Linked DNA regions of Homo sapiens: region 2 is linked to region 1. Evidence: promoter capture Hi-C in human tissues and cell types (Jung and others, 2019). All regions are on one chromosome and are shown on one strand. The core of a region is centred on a gene start or on the middle of the fragment in contact, and the rest is flanking DNA. Distances in the headings are between cores, read along the strand shown. Region 1 holds the start of CDK12 (cyclin dependent kinase 12). Region 2 holds the start of GSDMA (gasdermin A).

Evidence for each region. Contacts are between HindIII fragments. The study calls those that stand out against the background at their distance.
Region 2: a contact is called between the fragment with the promoter of GSDMA here and the fragment with the promoter of CDK12 in region 1, in 1 of the 25 tissues and cell types used here (adrenal gland).

The regions. Positions count from the first base shown.
Region 1 is chr17:39,460,004-39,463,317 of GRCh38, forward strand. It overlaps CDK12 (cyclin dependent kinase 12), which reads left to right and starts at 1,483. Exons shown (of 14, transcript NM_016507.4): 1 at 1,483-3,114. The coding sequence starts at 2,069. RefSeq lists enhancers at 1,260-2,184, 1,545-1,594, 1,685-1,744, 1,910-3,109, 2,135-2,264. The HindIII fragment of the contact is 12,986 bases long and covers 1-3,314 here.
Region 2 is chr17:39,961,219-39,965,043 of GRCh38, forward strand. It overlaps GSDMA (gasdermin A), which reads left to right and starts at 1,786. Exons shown (of 12, transcript NM_178171.5): 1 at 1,786-1,867. The HindIII fragment of the contact is 9,331 bases long and covers 722-3,825 here.

The sequences.
Region 1 (3,314 bases), core at 233-2,732:
AAGGTAGGCGAAAGTTTTTTAAAAAGTAATAAATGAGGGGCCAGTGTAAGATAGTGTTATTTTCTTGTTAATTAATACTATGCTTTTCTTGTTCATATTATAATCTTTTGTATGAGGATGAAAGGCTAAATTATCCAATAACGGCCATGGGAGGATCTCAAGATGGGATGAGCTTTTAGGTTCTGAGATTTGAAGCAAAGATTGGTAAGGAGACAACACCATAGGATGGAAGAGCTTGTGTTTTAGTCTCAGAAAGACATGAATTTGAATGTTGACTGTGGCACTTGTTGGACCAAATTATTCAACTTCCCTGAGGCTGGGATTCCTTTTCTATAAAACAGGGATGAAAATCTCGTGTTTTGCAGGATAATTGTGAAAATTAGAGATAATGTATGTAAAATTCTTGGCAGGTAGCACACACCCTATATGTGGGAAGCACTGTTAAAACACTCAGGGACTTGGGTTGAAATGTCCCGACATTTGTCTTTTGCTCTGTAAAAAATAATCTCAACCGGGCGCGGTGGCTCAAGCCTGTAATCCCGCCACTTTGGGAGGACCAGACGGGCAGATTGCTTCATTCTAGGAGTTCAAGACCAAGGATCGCGGATTGCTTGAGTCTAGGAGTTCGAGACTAGCCTGGGCAACATGGCGAAACCCCATCACTACGAATAATAGAAACAAATTAGCACGGCGTGGTGGCGCGACTCTATAGTTCCAAGTACTCGGCAGGATGAGGTGGGAGGATTGCTTGAGCCCAGGAGGTGGAGGCTGCAGTGAGCCGAGATCGTGCCACTGCACTCCAGTCTGGGCAAAAGAGAGAGAACTTGTCTCAAACAAACAAAAAAATGGCCCGGCGCGGCGGTTCACGCCTGTAATCCTAGCACTTTGGGAGGCCGAGGCGGGAGGATCACTTGAGGTCAGGAGGTCGAGACCAGCCTGGCCAACATGGTGAAACCCTGTCTCTACTAAAAACAAAAAAGTTAGCCGGGCGTGGTGGCGGGCGCCTGTAATCCCAGCTACTCGGGAGGCTGAGGCAGGAGAATCGCTTGAACCCAGGAGGTGGAGGTTGCAGTGAGCCGAGATCGCGCCACTAACACTCCAGGATGGGCTACAGAGCGAGACTCCGTCTCAAAGGAAAACAAAAAACAAACAAAAAAAAGTCATCCTGGTAGTTAAAAGATTTGTTAAAAAGGATGTTGAAATTATTTTGTCACGGAGCCTGGGAGTGTTTGTTTAATCAGTTACCGATAAAGTTTTGGTTAAAAAAAAAAAACTCGGTTTGTTCCGTTTCAATAAAGCTTTGCTCAAACGGGGAGCTCCGGGAGCTCATCGCGAGACTCAGGTGAAACGCGTTTCTAGTTTGGGACCTGATCTCGCGTTGTTTGATAAGCAGGGGAATGAGGTGAAAGCGAAGCACGAAACATCGCGAGAGGCTACTGGACTCTCGCGACGATTTCTGGGATTGCCCCTCCCCCCTTCCCCAAGTGCCGTTTCGGTTTAATCTAGTGTGTGACTGGGTCTGTGTGAGGGAGAGAGTGTGTGTGGTGTGGAGGTGAAACGGAGGCAAGAAAGGGGGCTACCTCAGGAGCGAGGGACAAAGGGGGCGTGAGGCACCTAGGCCGCGGCACCCCGGCGACAGGAAGCCGTCCTGAACCGGGCTACCGGGTAGGGGAAGGGCCCGCGTAGTCCTCGCAGGGCCCCAGAGCTGGAGTCGGCTCCACAGCCCCGGGCCGTCGGCTTCTCACTTCCTGGACCTCCCCGGCGCCCGGGCCTGAGGACTGGCTCGGCGGAGGGAGAAGAGGAAACAGACTTGAGCAGCTCCCCGTTGTCTCGCAACTCCACTGCCGAGGAACTCTCATTTCTTCCCTCGCTCCTTCACCCCCCACCTCATGTAGAAGGGTGCTGAGGCGTCGGGAGGGAGGAGGAGCCTGGGCTACCGTCCCTGCCCTCCCCACCCCCTTCCCGGGGCGCTTTGGTGGGCGTGGAGTTGGGGTTGGGGGGGTGGGTGGGGGTTGCTTTTTGGAGTGCTGGGGAACTTTTTTCCCTTCTTCAGGTCAGGGGAAAGGGAATGCCCAATTCAGAGAGACATGGGGGCAAGAAGGACGGGAGTGGAGGAGCTTCTGGAACTTTGCAGCCGTCATCGGGAGGCGGCAGCTCTAACAGCAGAGAGCGTCACCGCTTGGTATCGAAGCACAAGCGGCATAAGTCCAAACACTCCAAAGACATGGGGTTGGTGACCCCCGAAGCAGCATCCCTGGGCACAGTTATCAAACCTTTGGTGGAGTATGATGATATCAGCTCTGATTCCGACACCTTCTCCGATGACATGGCCTTCAAACTAGACCGAAGGGAGAACGACGAACGTCGTGGATCAGATCGGAGCGACCGCCTGCACAAACATCGTCACCACCAGCACAGGCGTTCCCGGGACTTACTAAAAGCTAAACAGACCGAAAAAGAAAAAAGCCAAGAAGTCTCCAGCAAGTCGGGATCGATGAAGGACCGGATATCGGGAAGTTCAAAGCGTTCGAATGAGGAGACTGATGACTATGGGAAGGCGCAGGTAGCCAAAAGCAGCAGCAAGGAATCCAGGTCATCCAAGCTCCACAAGGAGAAGACCAGGAAAGAACGGGAGCTGAAGTCTGGGCACAAAGACCGGAGTAAAAGTCATCGAAAAAGGGAAACACCCAAAAGTTACAAAACAGTGGACAGCCCAAAACGGAGATCCAGGAGCCCCCACAGGAAGTGGTCTGACAGCTCCAAACAAGATGATAGCCCCTCGGGAGCTTCTTATGGCCAAGATTATGACCTTAGTCCCTCACGATCTCATACCTCGAGCAATTATGACTCCTACAAGAAAAGTCCTGGAAGTACCTCGAGAAGGCAGTCGGTCAGTCCCCCTTACAAGGAGCCTTCGGCCTACCAGTCCAGCACCCGGTCACCGAGCCCCTACAGTAGGCGACAGAGATCTGTCAGTCCCTATAGCAGGAGACGGTCGTCCAGCTACGAAAGAAGTGGCTCTTACAGCGGGCGATCGCCCAGTCCCTATGGTCGAAGGCGGTCCAGCAGCCCTTTCCTGAGCAAGCGGTCTCTGAGTCGGAGTCCACTCCCCAGGTGAGCTATTTGTCTAACAGTCCTTCCTCATTTAGGGTGGGTTGCGAGGAATTGGCATTCAGCGTGTTAACATTGTCTGGAAGCCCGCAGTGTTCATCATTGACTAGAACACTTTGCTGTTGGCTAGTCATTCCAGTGTGTGAATCTGTCTCCCCTTAACCCAGAATTCGAGAAGTGAAGAGTACATAGGCCTCAAACCG
Region 2 (3,825 bases), core at 536-3,035, 500 kb after region 1:
CCCACTTCTGCCTCCCAAAGTGCTGGAATTACAGCCGTGAACCACCGCACCCAGCCTAACGACAACCTTCCCACACACTCAAGCCCCCACCTCTGCCTCTCCTAAGGAGAAGGGACATTTGATTGCTGGAATGGCTGGAGCTGTGGAAGGAGGATGAAGTATTGGGTGGCTGCAGTGAGCCATGATCAAGCCACTGCGCTCCAGCCTGGGTGACAGAGCGAGGCCCCGTCTCAAAAAGGTGTAGGGTGGATGGGAAAGTATGTAAAGAAAAAGAGAGTGAGCAGGGACCAGAGAGGCAGAGGCAAGGCTTGGCTTTGTTCTGTTTCAAGACATAGAGAAGAGATATTTGGGAGCATCTGTCATATTGAATGAGACTTTGGGGACACAAGTGGAGTAATGACTATTTTAGGGAGTTTTCCTAAGTGTGGAATGGTCTAGTCTCATTCACCATCAGCCCCTCAAGGAAACGTTCAGTAAAGATGGAATTGGCCGGGCGCAGTGGCTCATCCTGTAATCCCAGCACTTTGGGAGGCCGAGGCGGGCGGATCATGAGGTCAGGAGATCAAGACCCTCCTGGCCAACATGGCGAAACCCCGTCTCTAATAAAAATACAAAACTAGCCAGGCATGGTGGTGCATGCCTGTAATCCCAGCTACTCGGGAGGCTGAGGCAGAGAACTGTTTGAACCCGGGAGGTGGAAGTTGCAGTGAGCTGAGATTGCACCGCTGCACTCCAGCCTGGAGGACAGAGCGAGACTCCTTCTCAAAAAAAAAAAAGATGGAATTTACTCTTCACAGCATTCAGGGTTGCGTTTCTTTTTCCATGAGTGGTACTAAGAAGAGCCTCAAGGTGGGAGCAGGAAGGCTCTGCTGTGTCAGGTTATACCTGCACATATGCATGGCCACATGGCCCAACACTGTAAGGGCCTTGCTTGTAAGTCCCTTATTCTGTCCTCTAGCAATGTGACCATGTAGGCAACATTTGAAATTCCTTTAAAATTCCTTCTAGGCAGAGATTTAAGCTAAGAGGAGGACCTGAGTGACCTCTGGTGCAACATCTGAAAGCCCACGACAAGCCTCCTGGGCTTTTCCATGAATATCGCCGTGCCCCTGCCTACGGATATGCTGATGTGTGTATACAATATTCTGTGAGAAGCAGAGACGCTGAACACTAAACAACACAAACCCATTTGGTCTAACTCCATCTCTGCCTACTCAGACATCTGCTTCTAGCGGTATCAGAGTTATGTCTATGTAGCTAAAACAAATGGAGTAAGGCAGCAATACACACAGGCTGACAAGCCCAGGATGGAGGGCGGCACTGCAGATGCTCTGCTCTCTACTGGAATGTGTGGACATACAGGAATCCCTATCCCAGGACACCCGCAGACCCCCACCATGAATCCGAGATGCTCCCCAATGACGGTGATGATGACAGAACAGAGATGCCATCCCTGGTCACACACACACACACACACACACACACACTCCCACTGCCTCCCTCTGCACCCCTCCCAAAGGCACCTGCCTTCCTCTCCTCTCAATCCACAAGCCAACCTCCAGCTGCCACCTCTCTATCAGCCTTGGCTACCCCCACCCACGCTGGCACCTGCCTGGCAGCTCCCTATCCACCCCCTCAGCCCTCAGGAGGCCAGGGCACACGTGGAACAGGTTGATGTTGTTCTCCAGGAAGTGGAGTGGGAGGGGGGTGGGGTCACTAGGGCAGGCGGGGTCCCCGGAAGCCTCTGTCCCTGCATAAAGCAGCCTGTCCTGGCAAGGGATGGTCATCCTCTCAACCTACAGACCCAGTGAGCCCTAGGCCCTCACCCCAGACCCAGCTGCTGGATAGGACCCAGCCCCGCTCCCAGGTAAGAACTTGATGACAGCAGGGAAGGCAGGGGTGCTCTGAGGACACAGGAAGATGGGTGGACCAAGAAGGGAATGGAACTCCCCTAGAGTCCAGTGGGATAAGTATCCCGATAGGCCTTGGGGAGGGAAGGGAGAGGCAGGCCTGTGGACATCTCTCTGGTGAAGAGGAGGCTGCTGTTGCCCAAGCCCTTCCCAGGTGCACCCAGGTAGCACCAGGAGGTTGTCCTGCCCCATCCTGGCCCTCCCAGGAATGAGGGTGAAAAAAAAAAAGCACCTTGAAGCTGGCAGAACAGCCCCACGCATCTGTGCCGTGCTTCCTGCCCCCCCTGCTGCTGTGAAGTGCCTGTGGTGGATGTGGGATGCTTCCAAGCCAGCTGGTGTGGCCTCTTCCACCCACGGGGATAACTGGGGTGTGCCGATCGGCCACCCAGCCAGAGCACCTGGACTCAAACTTCAAAGACAGAGACTTAAGATGTTGACCCTCAGGTCAGGTGCGGTGGCTCACACCTGTAATCCCAGCACTTTGGGAGGGTGAGATGGGCGGATCACCTGAGGTCAGGAGTTCAAGACCAGCCTGGCCAACATGGTGAAACACCGTCTCTACTAAAAACACAAAAATTAGCTGGGCATGGTGGCAGGCGCCTGTAATCCCAGCTACCTGGGAGACTGAGGCAGGAGAATCACTTGAACCCAGGAGATGGAGGTTGCAGTGAGCCGAGATCATGCCATTGCACTCCAGCCTGGGCAACAAGAATGAAACTCCATCTCAAAAAGAAAAAAAAAATGTTGCCTCTCAGGTTCCCATGGGCCCCACATTCTCCAGGGCCCTCTCATCCTAGCGCACATCTCTCAGGGCCACATTCATTGGTTCTTTCCACACACATTTGCCAAGCTCGAACTCTGTGCCAGGTGTGGTACTTGCTGCTGCAGAGGTGACTAAGACCCATTTCCTGCCCTCTGGGAAGTCACAGACGAGTTGCTGATAGGGTCAGGTGAACAGATCATAACAAAGGAAGGTGCATCAGAAGAGCGCTTTGGAAACACAGATACAGTCACCAGCTGCCTGGAGGACTGAGGGAAGAGGTTCCAGGAGGTGACCTGAATTGAGCATTAGCGGAGGACTAGGGAGTCTTCAGATCCGGAAGCGGGTATTGTAAGCAGAGGGGGCAAAGGTGAAGAGCATCAAAATGCCTGGATCCTGGCTGGGCACAGAGGCTCACACCTGTAATCACAGTACTTTGGGAGGTCAAGGAGGGCGGATCATTTGAGGTCAGGAGTTCGAGACCAGCCTGACCAACATGGTGAAACCCTGTCTCCATTAAAAATACAAAAATTAGCCAGGCGTGGTGGCACACACCTGCAGTCCCAGCTACTCGGGAGGCTGAGGCAGGAGAATCGCTTGAATCTGAGAGGTGGAGACTGCAGGGAGCCGAGATGGCACCACTGCACTCCACCCTGGGCAACAGAGTAAGACTCCATCTCAAAAAGAAAAAAAAAAGTCTGGATCCAGGCATCCCCCAGGGGCTGTGAGAGGGGAGTGGGTGTACTCATACCTGTGGCACGCATGAGGGAAGGACAGGGTGCAGGGAAGTGTAACCCACACATGGAAAGGGCAACTGGGGCAGGTGAACAGCTTGGCCACCCAGGCTCTTGTTGCCAGCAGCATCTCCTTCCCTCCCCTGGTGTCCTCCGACTCTGGCTATTGCTAGTCTCTGGTGTGAGAGAAAGCTTTACTTCCATTGCTAAATAAATGCTCTAGACCAGGCGCAGTGGCTCACACCTGTAATCCCAGCACTTCGGGAGGCTGAGGTGGGAGGATCACTTGAGCCAGGAGTTTGAGACCAGCCTGGGAAACATAGTGAGACTCTGTCTCTACAAAAAAAATTTAAAAATTAGCCAAGTGCATGACTGCAGTCCCAGCTACTCAGGAGGCTGAAGTGGGAGGATCAATTAAGCC